Regions from separate parts of the Homo sapiens genome. Here regions 1, 2, 4, 5, 6 and 7 are each linked to region 3. Evidence: promoter capture Hi-C in 16 types of primary human blood cells and fetal thymus (Javierre and others, 2016). All regions are on one chromosome and are shown on one strand. Each heading gives the region's core, a stretch centred on a gene start or on the middle of the fragment in contact. The rest is flanking DNA. Distances are from core to core; before and after follow the strand shown.

What was found. Contacts are between HindIII fragments. The CHiCAGO score rates a contact against its expected background, and 5 or more counts as called.
Region 1: a contact is called between a fragment that was not itself captured here and the fragment with the promoter of ZNF625-ZNF20 in region 3, in 4 of 17 cell types (fetal thymus, total B cells, total CD8 T cells and 1 more). The highest score is 6.7, in fetal thymus.
Region 2: the fragment with the promoter of ZNF564 here is called in contact with the fragment with the promoter of ZNF625-ZNF20 in region 3 in 3 of 17 cell types (monocytes, neutrophils and erythroblasts); the score reaches 7.0 in monocytes.
Region 4: a contact is called between a fragment that was not itself captured here and the fragment with the promoter of ZNF625-ZNF20 in region 3, in 10 of 17 cell types (monocytes, non-activated CD4 T cells, erythroblasts and 7 more). The highest score is 11.8, in monocytes.
Region 5: a contact is called between a fragment that was not itself captured here and the fragment with the promoter of ZNF625-ZNF20 in region 3, in 1 of 17 cell types (monocytes). The highest score is 5.1, in monocytes.
Region 6: a fragment that was not itself captured here is called in contact with the fragment with the promoter of ZNF625-ZNF20 in region 3 in 1 of 17 cell types (erythroblasts); the score reaches 5.8 in erythroblasts.
Region 7: a fragment that was not itself captured here is called in contact with the fragment with the promoter of ZNF625-ZNF20 in region 3 in 5 of 17 cell types (erythroblasts, M0 macrophages, total CD4 T cells and 2 more); the score reaches 10.7 in erythroblasts.

What each region holds. Positions count from the first base shown.
Region 1 is chr19:11,776,014-11,779,708 of GRCh38, forward strand. ZNF441 (zinc finger protein 441) reads left to right here. Exons shown (of 4, transcript NM_152355.3): 2 at 1,598-1,724; 3 at 2,317-2,380. It overlaps LOC124904639 (a long non-coding RNA gene), which reads right to left and starts at 1,624. Exons shown (of 2, transcript XR_007067141.1): 1 at 1,481-1,624; 2 at 1,162-1,312. The HindIII fragment of the contact is 4,273 bases long and covers 64-3,695 here.
Region 2 is chr19:12,548,978-12,552,751 of GRCh38, forward strand. ZNF564 (zinc finger protein 564) reads right to left here and starts at 2,505. Exons shown (of 4, transcript NM_144976.4): 1 at 2,353-2,505. The coding sequence starts at 2,355. It overlaps LINC02926 (long intergenic non-protein coding RNA 2926), which reads left to right and starts at 2,749. Exons shown (of 2, transcript NR_187485.1): 1 at 2,749-3,774. RefSeq lists enhancers at 1,142-1,644, 2,303-2,412, 2,478-2,772, 3,556-3,774 and a silencer at 1,993-2,072. The HindIII fragment of the contact is 25,081 bases long and covers 1-3,512 here.
Region 3 is chr19:12,155,079-12,159,061 of GRCh38, forward strand. It overlaps ZNF625-ZNF20 (ZNF625-ZNF20 readthrough (NMD candidate)), which reads right to left and starts at 1,653. Exons shown (of 8, transcript NR_037802.1): 1 at 1,478-1,653. It overlaps ZNF625 (zinc finger protein 625), which reads right to left and starts at 1,656. Exons shown (of 4, transcript NM_145233.4): 1 at 1,478-1,656. The coding sequence starts at 1,480. RefSeq lists a silencer at 1,173-1,342 and enhancers at 1,319-2,010, 1,573-1,682. The HindIII fragment of the contact is 6,672 bases long and covers 1-3,447 here.
Region 4 is chr19:11,792,932-11,796,988 of GRCh38, forward strand. No RefSeq gene overlaps it. Among named protein-coding and RNA genes, the nearest start is that of ZNF491, 3.6 kb to the right of the region's middle. The HindIII fragment of the contact is 3,535 bases long and covers 795-4,057 here.
Region 5 is chr19:11,701,760-11,705,345 of GRCh38, forward strand. No RefSeq gene overlaps it. Among named protein-coding and RNA genes, the nearest start is that of ZNF823, 35 kb to the right of the region's middle. The HindIII fragment of the contact is 3,499 bases long and covers 150-3,586 here.
Region 6 is chr19:12,497,550-12,501,178 of GRCh38, forward strand. No RefSeq gene overlaps it. Among named protein-coding and RNA genes, the nearest start is that of ZNF709, 15 kb to the left of the region's middle. The HindIII fragment of the contact is 4,354 bases long and covers 199-3,629 here.
Region 7 is chr19:12,525,271-12,528,859 of GRCh38, forward strand. ZNF564 (zinc finger protein 564) reads right to left here. Exons shown (of 4, transcript NM_144976.4): 2 at 3,300-3,426; 3 at 3,034-3,094; 4 at 103-2,646. The coding sequence ends at 1,176. Among named protein-coding and RNA genes, the nearest start is that of ZNF564, 24 kb to the right of the region's middle. The HindIII fragment of the contact is 920 bases long and covers 1,219-2,138 here.

The DNA of each region.
Region 1 (3,695 bases), core at 950-3,449, 380 kb before region 3:
TGTTGTCCCAGTTGTTTGAAGGTTTTTTATGTATTTTGCAACAATTTGAAGCAGTTCCTGCCAAGCTTGACCTAATTAGGCTCCATCATTGATTAAATAAAAAAGAGAACTTTCTTTCAGACCTTTGGATAGTCCACAGATGGATTGAAAAATACAAAGGTGCAATAACTTACAAATAAGATCTGATCTGCTCTCTCTAGGGATCCACATTGGAAATTTGGTCTGCTGTTTTCAAGACTGGTGCTGATGTGAGGAGGGATTGGGACAAGGACAAATAAAAACTCCACAAAACTTTCCTACTATTTGTCACCTTCCTTATTCTATTTGTTTATCTCTGTGTTAATAGTACAGGGTACTGAATATAATATATTCACCATACTTTATCTGTTTTTGGAAAGCTGTTGCTTTCTTGGTTAGAAGGATTTTAGCATTTTTAGATGTTTGTGACTTCTATTAGATTTGGTCATGTAATTTTTAATGATGACAAAAAGGTCTGTTTAGGGATTTAGGGAAATATTATAGATATTCATGAGAGATGACATTGAGTTTTTTTCTAAGAACATATGCAATCTTGGCCCTTCTTTTCTTCTTTGACATTACTTAATAAAGTTTAATTTTTCCATTGGGATGGTAAAATATCCTTATTAGTCTTTTGTCATACTTAACTACATATGTTCTACAGTAAACCAGTTGCTAGCTTCCAAATGTTCTCTCTTAGTGTAGTCACATAGCACAGGCTAAATCCCCCAAGGCACAAGGGTCACTCATTACAGACACAGTGACCAGAGTGTTTTTTCCCTTTTTTTTTTTTTGAGGCGGAGTTTCTCTCTTGTTGCCCAGGCTGGAGTGCAATGGCGCAATCTCGGCTCACCGCAACCTTCGCCTCCCGGGTTCAAGCAATTCTCCTGCCGCAGCCTCCTGAGTAGCTGGGATTACAAGCATGAACCACCATACCGGGCTAATTTTTTGTATTTTTAGTAGAGACAGTGTTTCTCCCTGTTGGTCAGGCTGGTCTCGAACTCCTGACCTCAGGTGATCTGCCTGCCGCGGCCTTCCAAAGTGCTGGGATTACAGGTGTGTGCCACTGTGCCTGGCCTCAGAGTGTTTTTTTCATGGCTTAGTCTGTTTTTTGTTGCTTATAACAGAATACTTTAACCTGGGTAATTTATAAGAAATGATATTTATTTTTTACACTTCTGGAGGGTGGGAAGCCCAGCATCAAGGCTGGGCATCTGGTGAGAGCCTTCTTGCTGGTAACTCTCTTTTGCACAATAGGTAGTAGGACTTTGTCATGACAAGAACTGCAGACCCACTGTAGAAATAGAAATGAGGAGTGATTCAGGCAATAAGACTCACTTTCTTAACTTACCAACAAGAGGCGTGTTCCTATTCAACTGTTACTTTACAAAACATGTTCATTTCTAGGATCAGAATTGTGTGGGATAAAATGAGTGTAAAGAGAGAATAAGAGTGGGTTTACCATGTTCTTGAATAAATGCTTGGAAACCACAGCATCATGTGAAGGTTATGAAGTGAATTTACATTCCCAGTGCCTTCAGTTTTAATATTCCTCCTCTGCACATGTGAAATATTTCAGGACTCAGTGGCATTTGAGGATGTGGCTATAAACTTCACCTGTGAGGAGTGGGCTTTGCTGGGTCCATCACAGAAGAGTCTCTACAGAGATGTGATGCAGGAAACCATCAGAAACCTGGACTGTATAGGTAAGGATGTCATCATGTCTTCACTTAGTCAATTAGAGACATTTGTTTCTTGGTCATCAATGCTGTTCAATTATTTGAAATATGGAAGGGTATATAATTGGCCCTTGAACCAGCCACCCAAGCAGTCATACATCTTCTCCCGCACAACTTAACCACTAGTAGCCTACTGTTTACTGGCAGCATTACTGGTAACATAAACAGTTGATTAATACATGTATTATATGTCATATGTATTACATGCTATATATTCTCACAGGAAAGTAAGCTAGAAAAGGAAAATATTCATTAGGAAACCATAGGTAAGTGGAACATTATTTAGTATTCATAGAAAATACAACATTACAAAGTTTTCATTCTGATTGTCTTTACATTGAGTAGACTGAATAAGAGGAGGGGTTGGTCTTGCTGTCTCAAGAGTAGCAGAGACTGAAGAAATTCATATGTAAGTAGACCTGTGCAGTTCAAACCTGTGTTGAAGACTCAGCTGTAGTTTGGTGTGTGAATCATGCATGATTGTAGTGTACATAAAATCTTACAGTCTTTCTATAATTTTATAATAATTTATAGTCATTTTTCTGGTTCTAACTTTTAGGAATGATATGGCAAAATCATGATATAGAAGAAGATCAGTACAAAGATCTCAGAAGAAATCTAAGGTAATTTGCACTCACAAGAGAAAGCTGTGTCCTTGAAGTGATTCATAGTATGCCAGAAATTTTATTTTATTTTGTTTGTTTTAGAGACAGTGTCTCACTTTGTTGCTCAGGCTGGAGTACAGTGGTATGATCATAGCTCGCTGTAGCCTCGGACTCCTGTGCTCAATGGTCCTCCCATTTCAACCTCCTGAGTAGCTAGGGTTACAGGCATGCACCACCACATGTGGCTACATATTTAGTTTTTGTAGAGATAGAGTCTTGCTGTGTTTGACCAGACTCATCTCCAGCTCCTGTCCTTAAGCGTTCCTCCTGCCTTGGCCTCTCAAAAGGCAGGTATTGCAGGCATGAGCCACTGTGACCAGCCCAAAATTTTAAAAAGAAGCAAGGAAAATTAACAAGCCCACCTTAAATTTATTTATTCTTAGAAAATTTTCTTCAAAAACATATACTTAAATGTGACATGGCTATGGCTATTCAGTGCCTGCAAAATAGTTCCCTTGGAAACAGTATTAAGAATTCCCATATGAATGTCACTATCTTCAAAACAGCTGGGGTTGAGTTACCTTGTACATCATTCTGTCCATTCATGTTCAAAGAGGGCATGAGACCTACACTTTGCATGATAATGTTAGAAATGTAAATCCAGGCCAGGTGCGATAGCTCACACCTGTAATCCCAACTATTTGGGAAGCTGAGGCAGGAAGACTGCTTGAGCCCAGGTGTTCAATCAGCCTGGGCAACGTGGCAAGACGCCCTTTCTACAAAAAATACAAAAATTAGCTAGGCATGGTGGCCTGTGCTTGTGGTTTCAGTTACTTGGGAGGCTGAGACAGGAAGGTTGCTTGAGCCCAGGAGGTCAAAGCCGCAGTAAGCCCTGTTCACATTACTATACTCCAGCCTGGGCAACAGAGCAAAACCCAGTTTCAAAAAAAAAAAAAAAAAAAGAAAAAGAAAAAGAAAGGCTGGGTATGGTGGCTCACCCTTGTAATCCCAGCACTACAAGAGGTCAAGGTGGGCAGATTGCTTGAGCTCAGGAGTTCAAGACTAGCCTGGGCAACATGGTGAAACCTCGTCTCTATAAAAAATACAAAAATCTAATCTCAGCATTTTGGGAGGCTGAGGTGGGCAGATCACGAGGTCAGGAGATCGAGACCATCCTGGCTAACATGGTGAAACCCCGTCTCTACTAAAAATACAAAAAATTAGCCAGGTGTGGTGGCAGGCGCCTGTGGTCCCAGCTACTTGGGAGGCTGAGGCAGGAGAATGGTGTGAACCCGGGGGAGGTAGAGCTTGCAGTGAGCCGAGATTGCGCCAC
Region 2 (3,774 bases), core at 1,255-3,754, 390 kb after region 3:
TTATCCGCAGTAGCATTCTCAAGGCTAAGTTCTGGGATTGATCTGAAATCACCCAAAAGAAGAAAATAGACCTGAGAAACCTACCATACATGTTGCGGAGAGGAAACTACACAAATAAGATTTTTTAACAAATTGAATGTAAGACTAGATAATTGTTTTCCCTCAAATCTACTTTCTGCCTCTTTCTCCCCTTTGTGACCCTCCCTTTGCAAACACTTTATCTTGTCTTTCAAGCACTACTGATAAAATACATTCTACATTTAATGAAAAACAGGATCAAATAAGCAAATAAACCTTTTCAAGGGTTTACAAACCCAGGGAGAGGCAATGCTGACCTGGAATACAGACATTTATCTGATTCCAATGTCAGGTGAGGTCACCCTATCCCCTAGGACATCTCCCAGCCCCACCCTGGCTCACTGAGTGCTCAGTGACCAACCTCCCTGAAGACAGTGAATTGTGCCCTGCTCACTCTGCCCCAAGCGCATTTTAACTTTCAGGTTCTCGCACCATTTCAATGGGGCAGGTTTTCCTTCTCCTTTGAGATAGTTTTCCTCCCTTCACTAGACTAAAAACAATCCAGAGGTCAGGAATCATTTGTGTCTTTTCCTCTCAGTAACAGCCTAAGATTGGGTAACCATCAATGTGTCCCTAAGGAACGGAAACTGGGGTTGAGGAAGAAAAGCTGAGCGTCCCAAAGGGTAAACTTTTCAGAGGAAGGGGATACCGGGAGACTCCTCCCACCTCAGGGCATACAGCTGCTCCCGTGAGAGGCCCCACCCCTACACCTTAAGCTGTCCTCTGGGAGGAGTGACCCAGGGGTTGATAATCACTAGATCCTCCAAGAGAAGTGGCAGCTGTGGGTATCCTGGGTCAGGCCCAGGCAGTTCTGAAAATCAGGACCAGGAAAAGATAGAGGGCCACATCACCTTGTAAAGTTTCCAAAGGGGAAACTCCACCCAAAGACATTCTGATTAGGCGTCGGGGCTTAGGAAAGATAAAAGGAGGGGAAGCACAAAAATTTTTTTACCACGGCCGGGCGCGGTGGCTCACGCCTGTAATCCCAGCACTTTGGGAGGCCGAGGCAGGCGGATCACCTGAGGTCGGGAGTTCGAGACCAGCCTGGCCAACATGGAGAAACCCTGTCTCTACTAAAAATACAAAATTAGCCGGGCATGGTGGCGCATGCCTGTAATCCCAGTTACACGGGAGGCTGAGGCAGGAGAATCGCTTGAACCCAGGAGGTGGAGGTTGCAGTGAGCTGAGATCGCGCCATTGCACTCCAGCCTGGGCAATAAGAGCGAAACTCTGTCTCAAAAAAAAAAAAAAATTTTACCGTAGAGTGTCAGGTTCTTATTCTCCGTTTCCCTCTCAGGTTACAAGTACACAAACAAGAGGCCGGGCGCGGTGGCTCACGTCTGTAATACCAGCATTTTGGGAGGCGGAGGTGAGCGGATCACCTGAGGTCTGGAGTTTGAGACCAACCTGGCCAACATGGAGAAACCCAGTTTCTACCAAAAATACAAAAAGTAGCCGGTCGTGGCGGCGCATGCCTGTAATCCCAGTTACTCAGGAGGCTGAGGCAGGAGAATTGCTTGAACCCGGAAGGCGAAGGTTGCAGTGAGCTGAGATCTTCCCACTGCACTCCAGCCTGGGCGACAGAGCGAAACTCTGTCTGAAAAGAAAAAAAAAACAACAAACAGAAAACAAATCCTTTCAAAAGAGTATGGTGAAAGAAACTATAAACAACTAAAATACTGTGTCTTAAATGTCAAACAAAAAACAGCTGATAATGTTGATTTGGCGAGGGGAGGTCACCTTTGGGAATGCGGGGAAGGAACCGGAAATTTAGGCATTTATTTCCAGCCCCAGAAAAAGCTAGGCTAAAAAAAACGGGAGTCGTAGGTTTGAGATTCTTTTTCCAGTACGTTTGGAAGACTCGGAGGAAGACCAGTCCCCCGGAAAAAAAGACGATGTACTGGGAAGGCCACAGCCCACAGCTCTTCCCATGCACGAACCGCACACCCGAGACGGGATTCCGCCTTATGACCCTCCCGTGTCCCAGTACAAACAATCTGGAGAGAGGCGGGGCTGCGGGCGCGGAGCTGCCCAGACAGGGCTCCGAGGCCGAGGCCGCAGTCGCCGCGCAGGGACGGGACAGGACGCCTGGGGTACTGGCTACGGCCCAACCCACCCTGCGGCCGAGGGGACAGAGGGCCGAGCTGCGCCAGGGAACTCGGGTCCCAGACCCTGGAGTCGCTGCAGGGAGGCCAGGGTGCTTCCACAGCCGGTTCCGGCCGGTTCCCACAAGCCCCTCCCCCAGTCTCCAGGCGCCCGGCCCCGCACACGCACCATTTCCTGGCTTCCAGGGTGTCCCGGGGTCCTGCCTACGGCTCTCTCCGGCCTGTGCAGGTCCCAGCGCGCCAGACGCTGCGGTGGAGCCACCGGGGCCACTGGAGAAGCGGAGACCGGAACCCAAACGCAGCGGACACGAAACAGGAAGACCCCGCGGAGTTGTTGAACATTGCCCCTGTCCCCCTTGCAGAGTTCCTGATTGGATGGTTTGCAGGTTCCCGCCCCAGTGCCCCTGATTGGGTGATGATTCAAGTCCTGCCCCCTTGGTACTGAGTGACAGGAGAAGCAATGCGGTATGTGGCTGAGTAAAGACAGATTGACAGGGTCTTGGCCACTGCCCTTCGCGGGCCGGGCTTCCTCCTTCTGTAACCTTCTGTGCCGGGGAGGATATTTGCATTTAAGCAGAAAGTGTTTCAGGCTCTGCAGAGGTGACACTGGCGTGTTTCTGCACTCAGGGTGCCCTTCCTGCCTTTTCCTCCCGGACACAGAGTCACAAGTGTGCACAGGGAATGACAGACTCGGCGTCCAGTGGAGCCATCCCCTGGCCTCGGAGTAGGAGGCGCGCCCAGGCCAGGCCAGACCACAGTGTAACAGGAGGGAGGAGGGCTTGCTTCTTTCAGGCAAGAAAATTAAAACGGACAAAGAAATAAAAGTATTAAATGTATAGGAAAAACTGGAGTTTTTATGACAGCGATCATCTATAAAGAAACCAAGAGAAGTAAGCAAACATTTGAACTAGCTCAGACAAGCAGCCTGCTTCACCCGCAGTTCACAAGGAAAACCCACAATCATAACGTTAAAAATATTCCCAAGCGCCGGGCGCGGTGGCTCACGCCTGTAATCCCAGAACTTTGGAAGGCCAAGGTGAGAAAATTGCTTAAGGTCAGGAGTTCAAGACCAGCCTAACCAACATGGTGAAACCCCATCTCTACTAAAAATACAAAAATTAGCCAGGCGTGGTGGCAGGTGCCTGTAATCCCAGCAACTCGGGAAGCTGAGGTACGAGAATCGCTTGAACCTGGGAGGGGGAAGTTGCAGTGAGCCGAGATAGCGCCATTGCACTCCAGCCTGGGCGACAGAGCGAGACTAAAAAATGAAATATGAAATGAAATGAAATAATGAAATGAAGAAATGAAATATAAAATAAAATAATCCCAAGCTTGGGACCCAGACTCTAACTGCTGAAATGGAACCCCAGTGTGGATCAGAACCTGGTGATGAGACAGGGACACTTAAGAATTCAACTTTGGGAGCTCAAGGTGCCCTCCAGTCCTCTCCTCACAGTGTGGAAACACTCTTTCCTTCAAAACCTTCATTTGTACCAGCAGGAAACTCTCACCCGGAGTCAATGTAAAGTCGTGACCTAAATAAATTGTCATGTTCCCAAACCTTTTCTCCAGGGGACAATGCAAACAAGTT
Region 3 (3,983 bases), core at 403-2,902:
AGCCGGGTATGGTGGCGTGCACCTGTAATTCCAGCTACTTGGGAGGCTGAGGCAGGAGAATTGCTTGAACCTAGGAGGCGGAGGTTGCCGTAAGCCGAGATTGCGCCACTGCACTCCAGCCTGGGCGAGAGTGAGGCTCCATCTCAAAAAAAAAAAAAAACCTGCAAAGAAACCCTTTGTACCAATAAATACTAAATTGCAAACAAGACCTAAGGCCATGCAAGGCAAGGGTAAAGTCACGCCTTAGAATTCATAAAATCTAGTGAAACATATCTGTTTTTTGGTGGGGATGGAATCACGTGGCAGGTAACAGACTCCCTTCACTTAAACATTCCTTCCTACCCCTTTCAAATTTTAGACACAACTTCACACTCTCAGCCAACTGCCAACTACAGAATCCCTCAACCACCTGTGCCTTCTAAGCCCCGCTTCTACGTGTCCTGCCCTGTCAGCCTTCCATGCCTTGATTGATCTTTTCCCTGCAATTCCTGTCTCGCTGAAATGAATAAAACCAAACTGCCATCGAACCTCCTGGGGACCACTTACTCGAGGCTACATGCGGTTGTTTCCCTTGGTCACGTTCTCTCATATTCGGCGTAGAACATAGTTCAAGTTATTTTGCAGAGTTTTGCTCTTTCCGTTATCAAACTGCAAGCCATGACTGGGTGTTTCTCATTCAGGAAACATTTCTCATTCATTTTTTTCAAACTCCTATTCTGAGAAGCAAAACTCTTTAATTTTTAAGAGGACTCAGTTTAGTTTGTTGCTGTTGTTTTTGTTTTGTTTTGTTTGAGACAGGGTCTCGCTCAGTCGCCCAGGCTGGAGTGCAGTGGCGCGATCTCGGCTCACTGCAGTCCCAATCTCCTCCCTCAAGCGATCCTCCCACCTCAGCCCCCCAGTAGCTGGGATTACAGGTGGGCGGCACCACGCCCGGCTCATTTTTTAAAAATTTATTTTTAATAGAAACTAGGGTCTCGGTATGTTGCCTAGGCTGGTCTCGAATTTCTGGGCTGAAGCAATCCCCCCGCCTCAACCTGCCAGGCGTGACCCACTGCGCCTGGCCTTCAATTTAGTTTTTCAGGAAAAAAGGGGGGACTGGGGACCCCGCAGCCCACCGCTCCTCCCACACGAACCACACACCCGAGGCAGGATTGCCTCCATGACCCTCCCGTGGTCTCCGCACAATCTGGGGAGACGCGGGACTACGGGCGCGGAGCTCCCCAGAGAGGGCTCCGGGGCCGGGGCCAGGGCCGGGGTCGCAGTCGCAGCGCAGAGACGGGACAGGACGCCTGGGGTCCCGGCTGCCGGCCCAACCCCACCCTGCGGCCGAAGGGACCGAGGGCCGAGCTACGCCAGGGGGACTCCGCTCTGCAGACCCGAAGTCGCTGCAGGAAGGCCTGGGTCCTGCTAGAGCCGGTTCGAGCCGGTTCCTCCCGGCCCCTCCCCCGTCTCGGGACCCCCGGCCCCGCACACTCACCATTTCCCGGCTTCCAGGTGTCCTGGCCTCCTCTCCACGGATCCCTCTAACAGTCCAGTCACAGTGCGGGCGATGGAGCGACAGAAGCTATGGCGGAGGCACCTGGTCCCTCTCGGGGCCGGAAAACCGAGATCCCGACCTCCCTTTGGTGCAAGACGCCTGGGAGTCAGGAAAGCGGGAATGCGGCCTCCCCTTCCCCGGATGGACAGTTGGCAGGACCCCGCCCCAGCGCCCCTGATTGGATGAGGCTCCAGTCCCCGTCCCATCGGTCCTGAGTGACAGCGGAAGCCCTGGGTAACAAGGCCCGGCAGAACCGAAATGACCTGTTCCAACCACAGATTATCTAAGCGAGCTCCCTCCCTGCGTCTTGCTCTTTGGGTATTTGCATTTCAGCCAAATTTGCTCCGAATTGCTAGAGGGGGTACCGTTGTCTTCCTCACTCAATGGGCTGTCCCTGCTCCTTTGTCTTGCACAGGAAATTCCAGACTCAGAGTCCAGTGGAGGTGAAGGAAATTAAAATATTTTACGCCAAAATATATTTATTTGACAGATTTTGAAATGGCTGTGGCTCGGCCGCAAAAAAAAGTGGACTGGCAAAGCTGTCTTTGGAGGGGGGGAATTTGCATCTGCAGAGAATCTCCATTGATGAAACCATGCCCTCTCCCCCTTTATTTCTTTCCCTTTATCCAAGCTAGAAGAGATTGTGACCTGAACACAGGCAGGGTGCGGTGGTTCACGCCTGTAATCCTAGCACTTTGGGAGGCCAAGACTGGAGGATCCCTTAAAGTAAAGAGTTAAAGACCAACTTGGTCAACACAAGAATACCCCTGTTTTGTTGTTTTTTTTTTTTAATTTTTATTTATTAAACTTTAAGTTCTAGGGTACATGCGCACAATGTGCAGGTTTGTTACATATGTATACATGCGCCATGTTGGTGTGCTGTACCCATTAACTCGTCATTTACATTAGGTATATCTCCTAATGTTATCCCTCCCACATCCCCCCACCCTAGACCCCTGTTTTTATTATTTAAAAATCTTTACGGCCGGGAGCGGTGGCTCACGCCTATAATCCCAGCACTTTGGGAGGCCGACGCGGGCGGATCACGAGGTCAGGAAATCAAGACCATCCTGGCTAACACGGAGAAGCCCCGTCTCTACTAAAAATACAAAAAATTAGTCGGGTGCGGTGGCGGGCGCCTATAGTCCCAGCTACTCGGGAGGCTGAGGCAGGAGAATGGCGTGAACCCGGGAGGCGGAGCTTGCAGTGAGCCGAGATTGCGCCACTGCACTCCAGCCTGGGCGACAGGGCTAGACTGTCTCAAAAAAAAAAAAGAAAGAAAAAGAAAAAGAAAATCTGTGAAGGTCAGAATTAGAGCAAGACCCATTTGGGATGCCTCCTGGAGAAAGGGTTTATGAATTTTTATTTATTATTTTATTTTATTGTATTTATTATCATTTTTTTTGAGACGGAGTCTCGCTCTGTCGTCCGGGCTGGAGTGCAGTGGCGCAATCTCGGCTCACTGCAAGCTCCGCCTCCCGCCCGGGTTCATGCCATTCTCCTGCCTCAACCTCCCAAGTAGCTGGGACTACAGGCGCCTGCCACCACGCCCGGCTAATTTTTTGTATTTTTAGTAGAGACGGGGTTTCACCGTGTTAGCCAGGATTGTCTCGATCTCCTGACCTCGTGATCCGTCCGCCTCGGCTTCCCAAAGTGCTGGGATTACAGGCGTGAGCCACCGCGCCCTGCGGGTTTATGAATTTAACAGTAAATTTAGCTTAAACTGACTCAAGTCGAGAGCTTCCTGTTGGTGAAAATGAAGGTCTTAAAGGAGAGAATAATTTCTAAACTGAGGAGGGGACAGAAGGGCATTTCAAACTCCCAGATAAATCCTTAATTTTCTCTGCCTCATCATCTGGGACTGACCCGCCCTGGGGGGCTCCATTTCAGCAGTCACAGTTTGGCTTCCAAGCTTGGAAATATCATTTACCTTCTGACAGAGGGTTTTCCTTGTGAACTGTGCATGAAGCAGGCTGCTTATCTGAACTACTTCAAATGTTTGCTTTACTTTTCTTTTGATTCCTTTATAAAATATTGCTGCCGGCTGGGCGCGGTGGCTCACGCCTGTAATCCCAGCACTTTGGGAGGCCGAGGCGGGCGGATCACGAAGTCAGGAGTTCGAGACCAGCCTGACCAACATGGTGAAACCCCGTCTCTACTAAAAATACAAAAATTAGCCGGGCGTGGTGGCACACGCCTGTAATCCCAGCTACTCAGGAGGCCGAGGCAGGAGAATCGCTTGAACCCGGGAGATGGAGGTTGCAGTGAACTGAGATTGTGCCACTGAACTCCAGCTGGGCGACAGAGCGAGACTCCGTTTCAAAAAAAAAAAAACATATATATATATATATATATATATATATATATATATATATACACACACACACTTATATATGTGTTTGTATATATACACATATATGTGTATATATACAAACACATATATAAG
Region 4 (4,057 bases), core at 1,312-3,811, 360 kb before region 3:
TCTCTTGAGCCCAGGAATTTGAGTGAGCTAATATTGTACCAGTGAATTCTAGCTTGGGTGACAGAGGGAGACACTGTCTCTGAAAAAAGAAAGGAAAGGAAAGAGAAAGAAGAAAGAGAGAAAGAAAGAAAGAAGAGTGAGAGAGAAAGAAAAGAAAGAAAGAAGAGAGAGGAAGGAAGGAAGGAAAAGAAAAAGAAAGAGAGAAAGAAAAGAAAGAAAGGAAGGGAAAGGAAAAGGAAAGGAAAGGAAGGAAGAAGGAAGGAAGAAAGGGGGAGGGAGGGAGAAAAGAAAGGAAGGAAGGAAAAATGTCTATTTATGTCCTTAGACCACTTTTTACTTTTTTTTTTTATTTTTTTTGAGACAGAGTCTCTCACCCAGGCTGGAGTGCAGTGGCATGATCTCAGCTCACTGCAACCTCTACCTCCCAGGTTCAAGTGATTCTCCTGCCTCAGCCTCTTGAGTAGCTGGGATTACAGGCACCTGCCACCACACCCGGCTGATTTTTGTATTTTAGGTAGAGATGGGGTTTCACCATGTTGGCCAGACTGGTCTCAAACTCCTGACCTCAGGTGATCCGCCTACCTCGGCGTCTCAAAGTGCTGGGATTACAGATGTGAGCCACCATGTCCAGCCTTTACCACTTCTTAATGGGGTTGTTTTTGTTGTTGTTGAGTTGTTTGAGTTCCTTGTATATTCTGGATATTAGTGTTTTGTTAATATATAGTTTGCAATTAATTTCTCCCATTCTTCGGGTTATTTGTTCACTTTATTGATTATTTATTTTGCTGTGCAGAAGCTTTTCCATTTACTTAAGTCACATTTGTCTATTTTGTTATTGTTGCCTGTGCTTTTGAGGTCTTAATCCGGCATTTTTTGCCTAGACCAATGTCCAGAAGAGAATTCCTTAGATTTCCTTCTAGTATTTTTATAGTTTTGGGATTTACATTTAAGTACATTTTGAATTGATTTTTGTATATGGAGAGAGATCAGGGTCCAGCTTCATTCTTCTCCGTATGGCAATCCAGTGTTCCCAGCACTGTTTATTGAAAAGGGTGTCCTTACCCCAATGTATGTTCTTGTTGACTTTGTAAAAAACCAGTTGGATGTAAATATGTGGATTTTGTTCTAGGTTCTCTATTCTGTTTCATTTATTTCTGTGTATATTTTTATACCAGTAACATGCTGATTTGATTGCAATAGCCTTGTAGTATAACTTGAAGTTAGGTAATGTGTTGCTGTCAGAGGCATTCGAACCAGAGCGACTCCATTCTGAGGGCTAGGAAAGTGAGGCTGGGAATTGCTGGGCTTCATTCCCAGAAAGTTAGGCATACCTCGCTTCTAGGTGTTTACAGTTAAAGGAACAAATTAATAATGTTTACCAAGACCCAGACTTGGTAGTGTCCAGATATCCCAATATCTGGAGAACAAAGGCATTTCTAATTTTGCTTTAAAGATAATAATATCAATTCTTGCAAAATATAGTAATTAAGAAAATTAATCCTTTATCATGGACCCTTATAGCAGAGCACATCTGCCCATATATACAAGCATCATTGTACCTAGGGTGGATGCGTTCCTCCTCTTACTTACAGAAACATCCAACTCTTTCTGGGGAGTAGCTGTTCTTTCACCACTTTACTTTCTTAATAAACTTGCTTTTACTTTGCACTGCAGACTTGCCTTGAACTCTTTCTTGCAGGAAATTCGAAAACCCTCTCTTGGGGTCTGGATTGGGACCCCTGTCCTGTAACATTGCCTCCAACTTTGTTCTTTTTGTTTAGGATTGCTTTGGTTATTCGGGCACTTTTTTGGTTCTATATGAATTTTAGGATTGTTTTTCCTAATTATGTGAAAACTAACATTGGTATTTTGATAAGAATTGCATTGACTCTGTAGATTGCTTTGGGAAGTATAGTCATTTTAATGATATTAATTCTTTCTGAATAATTAATGAAATTAATTCTTCTGATATTAGTTCTTTCCATAAGCATGAAATGTTTTTTCCATTTGTTTGTGTCATCTGTAATTCTTTAATCAGTGTTTTATAGATTTTTTCTTTTTGTAGAGGCCTTTCACCTCCTTGGTGCAATATATTCCCATGTGGGGTGGGGTGTTATTTGGTAGCTCTCGTAAGTGGTATTGCTTTCTCGATTTGGTTCTCAGCTAGATTGTTGTTGCTGTATAGAAACACTGCTGACTTTTGTACACTGACTTTGTATCCTGAAACTCCTGAATTAATTTAACTAATCTAAGAGATTTTTGGTGGAGTCTTAAGCGTTTCTAGATGTAAGATTATATATCACTGAACAGGAATAATTTGACTTCCTCTTTTCCAATTTGCATGTCTTTTATTTCTTTCTCTTGCCTGATTGCTCTGGCCAAGACTTCCTATACTAGGGTTGAATAAGAGTGGTGAAAGTAGGCATCCTTAATCTTGTTCTAGTTTTTATCATTCAACTATTTCCCCATTCAGTATGATGTTGGCTGTGTGTTTATCATGTGTGGCTTTTATTATTTTGAGATATGTTCATTCTGTACCTAGTTTTTTGAGCTTTTATCATGAAGGATGCTGAATTTTATCAAGTGTGTTTTCTAAATCTATTGAGATGATCATATGGTTTTTATTCTTCATTCTGTTTTTGTGATGTGTTACATATATTAACTTGTGTGTGTTGGACCATTTTTGCATTCCTGGTATAAAACCTACTTTATCATGCTGTATTATCTTTTTAATGTGCGGTTGGATTCAGTTTGCTAGTGTTTTGTTGGGGATTTTCACATCCGTGTTCATCGGGGATATTGGTCTGTAGTTTTGTTGTTGTGTCCTTGTCTGTTTTTGGTATTAGGATGTTACTGGCCTCATAGAATGAGTTAGGGAGATTTCCCTTGTCTGTGATTTTTAGGGACAGTTTCAGGATTATTAGTATAGTTCTTTTTGTATGTTTGGTATAATTTTTTTAATGTTGATTTTTAAATTTTTATTTTTTTACTTAGAGATGGGATCTTGTTATGTTGGCCAGGGTGGTCTCAAACTCCTGGCCTCAAGCAATCCTCCTGTCTCAGGCTCCACAGTGCTATGATTACAGGCATGAGCCACCACATCTGGCCTATTTGGTACAATTTTGGTATAAATCTGTCTGGCCCAGAGCTTTCATTTTTGGGAATTTTTTTATTGCTGATTCAATATTGCTACTTATTATTGGTCTATTCAGGATATCTGTTTCTTCTTGGTTCAATCCTGGGAGGTTATACGTTTCAAAAAAACCTATAGGTTTTCTAGGTTGTGAGCATATAGTTGTTCATAGTAGTCTCTGATGGTATTTCTGTGGTATTGGTGTAATGTCTTCTTTTTCAATTCTGGTTTTGTTCATTTGAATCTTCTTTTTTTTCTTGGTTAGTCTAGCCAGCAGTTTATTACTTTTGTTGATATTTTCAAAGAACCAACTTTTTGTTTCGTTTATCATTTGTGTTGTTTTTTAGTCTTGATTTTGTTTAATTCTGCTCTGATCTTTGTTATTTCTTTTCTGCCAACTTTGGATTTGTTTTGTTCTTGTTTTCCTAGTTCCATGGGGTACCATGTTAGGTTGTTAATTTGTTACTTTTTTGACAGAGGCATATAATTCTATAAACTTCCCTCTTAGCATGACTTTTCCTATATCCCAGAGGTTTTGATATGTTGTGTTGCCATTTTTGTTCATTTCAAACAAAATTTTTATTTTCTGTTTTTATTTCTTCTTTGACTCAGAGATCATTCAGGAGCACATTGTTTAATTTCCATGTATTTATACAGTTTTCAAAGTTCCTCTTGGTATTGATTTTTAGTTTTATTCAGCAGTCTGAGAAGATGCTTGAAATGATTTTGACTTTAAAATTTGTCGAGACTAGTTTTGTGGCCTAACATATGGTCTACCTTGGAGAATGTTTCACGTACTGATGAGAAGAATGTATATTCTGCAGTTGTTGGGTTCTGTAAACGTCTGTTAGCTCCATTTGGTCCAAAGTCCAACTTAAGTCCAATTTTTTTGTTGATTGTCTGTCTTGATGATATATCTACTAC
Region 5 (3,586 bases), core at 649-3,148, 450 kb before region 3:
AGCCGAGATCGCACCATTGCACTCCAGCCTGGGCAACAAGAGCGAAACTCTGTCTTAAAAAAAAAAAAAAAGCTGTCTCCCCACCTAGACAACCACTGGACTGACAGAATCATCTGATGTAGCAATGTTATAACTGTGGAGGCTATTGAAGCTTTGCAACTTCCATAAAAAGGATTAGACAGTAAACTATGGCTAATTGTGGTCATTTTATCACTTAGCACAATACAAGCTATCATCCCCACCCTTACCCCTGTTGCAGGCAGCTGCACATGGAGTGTTTTCCTCTAATTTGGCCTCGGGATCTCTCTCAGAAGCGTGGCTATAAACTTTAGTGCTGGCCAGGCGGGGTAGCTCATGCCTGTAATCCCAGCACTTTGGGAGGCCGAGGCGGGCGGATCACAAGGTCAGGAGATCAAGACCATCCTGGCTAACCTGGTGAAACCCAGTCTCTACTAAAAAAAATACAAAAAATTAGCCAGGCATGGTGGCGGGCGCCTGTAGTCCCAGCTACTCAGGAAGCTGAGGCAGGAGAATGGCGTGAACCCGGGAGGCAGAGCTTGCAGTGAGCCGAGATTGCACCACTGCACACCAGCCTGGGCCACTGAGTGAGACTCTGTCTCAAAAAAAGCAAAAACAAAAACAAACAAAAAGAACTTTAGTGCTGCATTGACGGGGCTCCAGGACACTTGGTTGTGGATATTTACAGTGTGACTTTCATGGGGTCTAATATTTAAGTGTTAACCCATAACCAAATGTCCTTCACAGGAAACTTGATTATACTGGCAGATGCCCTTATGGTTCTACCTCTGCCAAGTTAATCTCTACCAAGATAGCCAGATACCCACTCTCTACAGAGCCCTGACCTGGTAATAAGCTAGACATAGGTGTGGCAGTCAGGTGAGACGTGTGAGACAGCATCAGGCAGGCCAATATATGCACTGTGGGAGTTTCAGAAGGAGAAGAGACAGAGAAAGGTCAGGGGAGACTATTTGGAGAAATAATAGCTGCAAATATTCCAAATTAGATAAAAGCCATGAATGAATGCTGTCATCCAAGAAGCTCAATGAACTCCAGGTAGGATGAATGCAAAGAGAAGGACATGAAGACATATTATACTCAAATTGTCAAAGCCAAACATAAAGGGAGAACCTTGAAGGCAGCAAGAAAGAAGTGAATCATCACATATAAATGATCTTTCATAAGATCATCAGCAGATTTCTCATCAGAAGCGCTGAAGGCCAGAGGTAGTGGGCTGATGTATTCAAGGTACTTAAAAAAAAATGGCCACGGTGGCACATCCCTGCAGTCCCAGCTATTCCGGAGTCTGAAGTGGGAGGATCAGTTAAGGCCCAAGAGTTCAAGGCCAGCCTAGGTAACATGGCAAGACTCCATCTCAGAAACAAAGACAGCCAAGAATCCAATATCTGGCAACATTGTCTTTCAAAAGTGAGGAGGAAATTAAGGCATGCTCACATGAACAAAAACTGAGGTAGTTTTGTTCTTTTTGTTTTTGCCATTAGATGTACCCTGTGAGAAACGCAAAAGCCTTCTACAGGTTGAAATAGAACACTGGACAATATCTGGAAGGCGTAAGCCCAAATAAAGATCTCAGTAGAAACAAATGCATGGACAATTATAAATGCTAATATTATTGTACAATAATTGTGAACTCCAGTTTTTGTCTTTACATAATTGAAGATACAAATCCATTAAAAATTATTAGTCTAAAAGCTAGCATTTTAGACTTGGCTTTTGAACTCTATATTTTGTTTTTTTACACAGTTTAAGAGACTAATAAAAAAGAAACTAGGTTGGGCGTGGTGGCTCACGCCTGCAATCCCAACACTTTGGGAGGCTGAGGCAGGCAGATCACGAGGTCAAGAGATTGAGTCCATCCTTACCAACATGGAGAAATCCCATCTCTACTAAAAAAAGAAATACAAAAATTAGTTGGGCGTGGTGGCGCACGCCTGTAATCTCAGTTACTTGGGAGGCTGAGGCAGTAGAATCACTTGAACCCAGGAGGCGGAGGTTGCAGTGAGCCGAGATTGCACCACTGCACTGCAGCCTGGAGACAGAGAGAGACTCCGTCTCAAAAAAAAAAAAAAAGAAAGAAAGAAACGAATGCACCGAAAATATGTTTGCGTTTTTGAATACATAAAGTATAAAGATGTAAATTTATGACACCAAACTGAAAGGGGTGTGAACAGGCATGCCATGGAGCATTGTATTTGCATGCTATTTATGTTAAATTGGCATAAATTTAGAATGTTATGGCCTTAGGATGGTAAACGCAATCCCCATGGTAATTAACAGAGCAGTAGTGTATACACAAAAGGAAACAATAAAGAAATTTAAATGTTTCACTACAAAAAGCAATTAAAAGCAAAATAATGCAGAAATGCATGAAATGAGAAGAAAAAAGCTACAAGGCATATTGAAAACAAATAGGAAAATGACAAAACCAAGTCCTTTCTTATCAGGAATTACTTTATCTATTTATTCATTTTGAGACACAGTGTTGCTCTGTCGTCCAGGCTGGAGTGCAGTGGTACGATCTCGGCTCACTGCAACCTCTGCCTCCTAGGTTCAAGTGATTCTCATACCTCCAAAGTAGCTGGGATTACAGGCATGCAATTCTCCTGCCTCAGCCTCCCAAGTAGCTGGGATTACAGGCATGCGTCACCACACCCGGCTAATTTATTTCTATTTTTAGTAGAGACAGGGTTTCACTGTGTTGGCCAGGCTGGTCTGGAACTCCTGGCCTCAAGGGATCTGCTCACTTCGGCTTCCCCAAGTGCTGGGATTACAGGCGTGAGCCGCAGCGCCTGGCAATGTGAGTTAATTTTAGTGTATAATGTGAGAAAGGTTCTCAGTTCATCTTTCTGCAGGTCAATATCCCATTTTCCCAGCACATTGTTGAAAACCCATTCCCTATGAAAGCATCTTGGCCCATTTGTTGAAAATCAATGAGCCATAAACAAAGAGTGTCTTAGTCCATTTGTGCTGCTATCGTGGAATACCACAGACTGGGTAATTTATAAAGAATAGAAATTGACTTTCTCACAGTTCAGAAGGCTTAGAAATCCAAGAAGACACTGGCATCTGGCTTCAGCATTGCTGCATTCTCACAGGGTGGAAGACAGGAGGGCAAGAGAGGGCAAATTGCATTCATCAAACCCTGTATAATGCCATTAATCTATTCACGAGGGCAGAGTCCTCATGATCTAATCACCAAAAGGCCCCTCCTCCCAATAGTGTTGCAGTGGGAATTAAGTTCTGACTTATAAATTTTAGAGAGTACACAAATATTTAAACCATAGCTAAGGGACTCTCAATTCTGCCCTGCTGGTCTATATAGCTGACAATTTGCCAGTAAGTCTGGTTACTTTACTACCCACCCTGATGCTGAAGCATCCCATTCCGTCCCACATGATAGTCATGCAGGCATAGAAATGGTTCTAAAGCCGCAAGAGCATCCCTTAGACAACCTAGATGTACTTCTATTTTAGGATACATCCTGTAAAAGAAATTTTCTGAAGAACATAATAATGGGTCATGCCATGGTTGCTCCACATGAAACGCT
Region 6 (3,629 bases), core at 1,126-3,625, 340 kb after region 3:
AATAGAATTTTTATTCCTTTCAGGCAAAAGAAGCTCATGGTGTGAGATGGATATGTTTAACTTCTCAGGTGCATTTTTATTTTTACATTAGTTTGTGTGTGTGCATATCCCTAGAAAACTTTCAAACTTCAAAGGCTCTACTATTCCCAGGGCAAATGGATTCCTGTTTTAATTGATACGAGGAAAACTACTCCTCAAAGCTTGTGTAATCTTTGAAAAATTCTACTACATTTAATGGTTATATCCAAACCCTAATGTATTATAATATGCTACTCTTTTTTTGAGACTGAGTCTTGCTCTGTTGCCCAGGCTGGAGTGCAGTGGCGCCATCTCGGCTCACTGCAAGCTCCACCTCCCGGGTTCACGCCATTCTCCTGCCTCAGCCTCCCGAGTAGCTGGGACTACAGGTGCCCATCACCACGCCTGGCTAATTTTTTTGTATTTTTAGTAGAGCTGGGGTTTCACCATGTTAGCCAGGATGGTCTCGATCTCCTGACCTCGCGATCCGCCCGCCTCGGCCTCCCAAAGTGCTGGGATTACAGGCGTGAGCCACCGCGCCCAATCTATAATATGCTACTCTTTCCTGAAAATACCCCTCAGTGTGAGATACAGTGGACAGACATGCTATGATGCAGATTCTCTTAAGATTTGAAATTTTACATTTCGTATAGTTTACACTTTTAAAAGTGTATAAAGGATTAAATCTTAATGAAGACAACTTAAAATTTAAAAAAAACTACATTATTTAAAGACTTTAATAGTAAAATATAGTGCAGATAAATATCTTCGTTCATTTTATTTTTTTATTTTTTATTTTTTTTGAGACGGAGTTTTACTCTTGTTGCCCAGGCTGGAGTGCAATGGCACAATCTTGGCTCACAGCAACCTCCACCTCCCAGGTTCAAGTGATTCTCCTGCCTCAGCCTCCCGAGTAGCTGGGATTACAGGCATGTGCCACCATGCCCAGCTAATCTTTTTGTATTTTTAGTAGAGATGGGGTTTCTCCATGTTGGTCAGGCTGGTCTCGAACTCCTGACCTCAGGTGATCTGCCTGCCTCGGCCTCCCAAAGTGCTGGGATTACAGGCGTGAGCCACCGTGCCCGGCCTTTTTAATGTATATTTTTAGACAGGGTCTTGCTCTGTCACCCAGGATGGAGTACAGTGGCACGATCGATCATAGCTCACTGCAGCCTCAGCCTCCCCTGCTCAAGTGATCCTCCCAACTCAGCCTCCTGAGTAGCTGGAACTACAGGCACATACCACCATGCCTGGCTAATTTTTGTATTTTTTGTAGAGGCAGGGTTTCACCAACCGGCAGGGTTGCCCGGGCTGGTCTTGAACTCTTGAGTTCAAGTGATCCTCCTAGCTCGGCCTCCCAAAGTGCTGGGATTACAAGTGTGAGCCACTGCACCAGGCCTCCATTCATTTTAGAGAGATAATACATGTGAAGGTTAAAAAAAAAAATCTATGAGACAGGAAAATCTAACATAAGACTCACTGTCAAGCATATCCTGGTTCATTCCAGGATTCTTGCTCCAGCCACCCCGCCCTTCGTAAAAACTTTTGGTAATTCCTTGTGCATCCTATTAGTGTTTCTTTATTAAAACAAGCAATTGCAGGCCAGGCGCGGTGGCTCACACCTGTATTCCCAGCACTTTGGGAGGCCGAGGCAGGCGGATTACCTGAGGTCTGGAGTTCGAGACCAGCCTGACCAACATGGAGAACCCTTGTCTCTACTAAAAATACAAAATTAGCTGAGCGTGGTGGCGGGTGCCTGTAGTCCCAGCTACTCAGGAGGCGGGCGCCTGTAGTCCCAGCTACTCGGGAGGCTGAGGCAGGAGAATCACTAGAACCCAGGAGACTGAGGTTGTGGTAAGCTGAGATTACGCTATTGCACTCCAGCCTGGGCAACAAGAGTGAAACTCCGTCTCACACAACAACAACAACAAAAACAAGCAATTGCAAATGCATGTTTTTCTTATCCATGTTTGCTCTTGTAATGAGTAGTTGGACTCCACCCTTTCTGGTATTTGACTGTTGGCAGATTCAGTGTCAACCCCCCTCTTCTTTCTAACAGCTGCCCACTGTCAATGGAATCACCAAACTCTCAAATATTTTAAGGCTTTATTCTGAGTCAGTATGAGTGACCACGGCCCAGAAAACGCAGTCTCAAGAAGTCCTGAGAAAGTGCACCAGTGGCAGCCAGGTTACAGTTATTTGGTATTTTTGAGACAGGGTCTCACTCTGTCGCCCAGGCTGGAGTGCAGTGGCACAATCTCAGCTCACTGCAACCTCAGCCTCCCAGGTTCAAGCAATTGTTGTGCCTCAGCCTCCTAAGTAGCTGGGATTACAGGCCTGCGTCACCATGCCTGGCTAAATTTTTTGTATTTTTAGTAGAGATGGGGTTTTGCCCTGTTGGCCAGGCTGGTCTTGAACTCCTGGCCTCAAGTGATCTGCTGGCCTCAGCCTTCCAAAGTGCTGGGATTACAGGCACGAGCCACAGCACCCAGCTACAGTTTGGTTTTATGCATTTTAGAAAGACAGGAGTTGCAGGCAGACATAAATCAGTACATGGAAGGTAGGCATTGATTTGGCCTGAAAAGGTAGAATATCTTGAAGCGGGGGCTTACAGGTTATAGGTAGACTCAGAGGTTCTTTGATTTACAGTTGGCTAAAGGAGTAAACATTTGGAGTCATTAGATAAGAATGAATGTTTGGGCCGGGCGCGGTGGCTTATGCCTGTAATCGCAGCACTATGGGAGGCCGAGGCGGGTGGATCACCTGAGGTCAGGAGTTCGAGACCAGCCTGGCCAACATGGAGAAACCCTGTCTCTACTAAAAATATAAAATTAGCCAAGCGTGGTGGTGGCGCCTGTAATCCCAGCTACTCGGGAAGCTGAGGCAGGAGAATCACTTGAACCTGGGAGGCGGAGGTTGTGGTGAGATCATGCCATCGCACTCCAGCCTGGGCAATAAGAGCGAAACTTTGTCTCAAAAAAAAAAAAGGAATGTTTAAGGAAGACAGCTGGGCTCAGGAGCCTATAATCCCAGCACTTTGGGAGGCTGTGGCACACAGATTGCATTAGGCTGGGGACAGTGGCTTATGCCTGTAATCCCAACACTCTGGGAGCCCAAGGCAGGTGGATTACTTGAGGCCAGGAGTTCAAGACCATCCTGGCCAACATGGTGAAACCCTGTCTCTACTAAAAATACAAAAATTAGCTAGGTGTGGTGTGTGTGCCTGTGGTCCCAACTATTTGGGAGGCTGAGGCAGAAGAATCCCTTGAGCCCGGGAGGTGGAGGTTGCAGTAAGCTGAGATTGCGCCACTGCACTCCAGCCTGGGTGACAGAACGAGACTCCATCTAAAAAAAAAAGTAAAAATGAGGTCGGGCGCAGCAGCTCACGCCTGTAATCCCAGCACGTTGGGAGGCCGAGGAGGGCGGATCATGAGGTCAGGAGATCGAGACCATCCTGGCTAACACGGTGAAACCCCGTCTCTACTAAAAATACAAAAAATTAGCTGGACGTGGTGGCGGGCGCCTGTAGTCCCAGCTACGCAGGAGGCTGAGGCAGGAGAATGGCGTAAACCTGGGAGGTGGAGCTTGCAGTGAGCCAAGACTGCACCACT
Region 7 (3,589 bases), core at 429-2,928, 370 kb after region 3:
GCCTGCTTCGGCCTCCCAAAGTGCTGGGATTACAAGCGTGATCCACCACGCCCGGCCCTGCTTTCAATCTTTTTATTTTCCCAGAAATGGAAATGCTGATCATATGTTATTTCTATATTTTAATCTGGGGATCTGCCATACTGTTTTCAGCAGGCTTATACCACTGTACATTCCCAGTGATAGTGCACAATGTTCTCCAACATTCCACATCCTTGACAGTATTTCTTGTTTTCCATCTTTGATACTACTAATCCTAATGAGATGCTATGTATGTCTTGAGTTTGATTTGTATTTCCCTAATGACTAAAGATGTCGAGCATTGTTACGTGCTTATTGGCCATCTGGGTATCTTCTTTGGAGAAATGTCTATTCAAGTCCTTTCCTCCATTTTAAAATTGGATTGTGTCTTAGCTTGGGTTGCTAAAACAAAATACCATAAATTGGAAAGCTTAATTAATCAACAAACATTTATTTCTCATGGTTTGGGAGGCTGGGAAGTCCAATATCAAGGCACTGGCATAGTCCATGTCTGGTAAGGGCCTGCTTCCCGGTTCAAAGATAGCTATCTTCTCACTGCACCCTCTCATGGTGAAGGGCAAAGCTAGCTCTCTAGGGATTCCTATCAGGAAACTAATCCCAATTACAAGGCCTCCATCTTCATGATGTCCTCCAATCCTAAAAACCACCAGAGACAGGGCCTCCAAATACCATCACATTGTGGGGGAGAGGGGGGGCACGGGGGTAAGGTTTCAACATATGAATCTGAGGTGGCATACACTCAGCCAAAACATTACACCTCTGGCCCCCAAAATCCATGTCATCACATGTAAAATATATTCATCTCATCCCAAAGGCCTCAAAAGTCTCAGTTAATTCCAGCATGAAGCCTAATGTTTAAACTCAAACTCCAAAGTGTCATCTCAATATCACATCACTCAGATATGGATGAGACTCAATTCATGCTGAGGCAAAATTCTTCTTCAGCTCCGAACCGGTGAAAACCAAACTAGTCATGTATTTCCAAAATATGAGACAGGCACAGGATAGAGATTCCTATTCCAAAAGTGAGAAACAGGAGAAAGGGGTGAGCTCCCAAACAAGTCTGAAACCCAGAAAGCAAACTGAAGACTTTCCATATTCTTTAGATATGTAGATACTTGTAGACCTGTCCTCCACTATTCATTTTCACAGGTATTCGAAGGTTGTGTGATAAATGAAAGCTTTCCCACATTCTTTACGTAAGGTTTATCTCCATTATGAGCTCTTTCATGTCTTTGAAAGGAACTGGAATAACTGAACGTTTTTCCACATTGCTTACATTCATAGGGTTTTTCTCCGGTATGAGTTCTTTCATGTATTCTAATGGAACTGGCATAATTGAATGCTTTCCCACATTCTTTACATTCATAGGGTTTTTCTCCAGTATGAGTTCTTTCATGTGTTCGGACAGAACTAGGACAGTCAAAGGCTTTACCACATACCTGACATTTATAAGGTCCATCTCCAGTGTGCAGTATCATATGTTTTCTAATCCTTTTAAGAGAAATGAAGGCTTTCCCACATACCTGACATTCATAGGGTTTCTCTCCAGTGTGAGTTCTTTCGTGTATTTGAAATGAACTGGGACAGTCAAAGGCTCTACCACATACCTGACATTTATAAGGTCCATCTCCAGTGTGCTTTATCATGTGTCTTCGGACACTTGGGAGAGAAATGAAGGCTTTCCCGCATTCCTTACATTCATAGGGCTTCTCTCCAGTGTGAGTCCTTTCATGTGTTCGAACATTACTGGAAGAACTGAAGGTTTTACCACATTTATTACATTCATAGGGTTTCTCCCCAGTATGAGTTCTTTCATGCTTTCGAACATAACTGGGAAAAATAAAGGCTCTCCCACATACTTTACATTTATAAGGTCCATCCCCAGTGTGCCTAATCATATGACTTTGAAAATTTGTGAAAGAAATGAAGGCCTTCCCACACTGTTTACATTCATGGGGTTTCTCTCCAGTATGAGTTCTTTCATGTATTCGAAATAAACTGGGGCGGTCAAAGGCTTTTCCACATTCCTGACATTTATAAGGTCCATCTCCAGTGTGCCTAATCATGTGTCTTTGAAAACTTGGAAGAGAAATGAAAGCTTTTGCACATTCCTGACATTCATAGGGTTTCTCTCCAGTGTGAGTTCTTTCATGTATCTGAAATAAACTTGGGCGATCAAAGGCTTTCCCACATTCCTGACATTTATATGGTCCATCTCCAGTGTGCTTAATCATGTGTCTTCGAACACTTGGGAGAGAAATGAAGGCTTTCCCACATTCCGGACATGCATAGGGTTTCTCACCAGTGTGAGTTCTTTCATGTCTTCGAAAGGATTGACAAGAACTGAAGGCTTTCCCACACTGCTTACATTTATATGGTTTCTCTCCATATTCCTGATAGTCATATGGTTTGTGTCCAAGGTGAGATCTGATGTGCCTACTAAGGGATGAATGATGCATGAAGACTTTCCCACACAAACTACATTCACATGGTCTTACTATAGTAGGAATTTTCTTGTTCAGATTAAGATTGAGAATCTGACTGAAGGCTTCTCCACATTGATCATATTCTTTACTTTCACTGAGTCCCTCTTCCATATGATTTCTGGAAAAAATAGAAAGCAAGATTTAGTGGTTTGTGACTTTATATTTATTAATAGGTATTCGACTTACATTTTTACCATAATCGCGGAAAGGGTAAGTTTTCAGGCCTGTATGAATTGTTTGAAAGTGAATGGATGGAATGCTCTGCAAGAGAGCTTGACAGTAGCTATCACCAAAAAAGTGATATCCATATATACAGTTTCTTAATACTATTTCCAAGTGAATGATTTTGCAACACTGAACATCTATGCCACTTTTTCTTTTTCTGGTGAAAAAGTTGTAGGAATAAATAAATCTGAAGCTGGGCTTACTGGTTTGTTTACTTATTTTTAAAATTTCATGACATACTAAGAAGGAGACATTGCTTTATCTTGTCAGTGCAAATTACCTTAAAATTCTCCCCTGATTTTTGTACCAATCTTCAATGCTCTGGTCTTCCCATTTTTTTCCTAAAATATAGTCAGAAAAAATCCTTATGAACTGATAGACATTACAGAAAAATGACTAGATTCTAAGTTCATGATAAGGTGCAAACAACCCTGATTTATTCACCCAAGTATTCCCTTTTCCACATTAGACATCATGAAAAAGCATTAAAAAGCAAGAAATACTTCTTCTCTAACTGACTAAAAGAAGGAATGATGTCATCCTTACCTACACAGGCCAGGTTTCTAAAGGTTTCCCGCATCACATCTCTGTAGAGTTTCTTCTGGGAAGGATCCAGCAAAGCCCACTCCTCAAGTGTGAAGTTCACAGCCACATCCTCAGAGGCCACTGAGTCCTAAAACATCCCAAATATGCAATGCAGGAGGAAGAATGAGATGACAGTACAGGGATGTAAACCCAATTCATAAAAGTTCACAAATGGCTAGGTGTGGTGGCTCATGCCTGTAATCCCAGCACTTTGGGAGGCCAAGGCATACAGATCACCTGAGGTCAGGAAC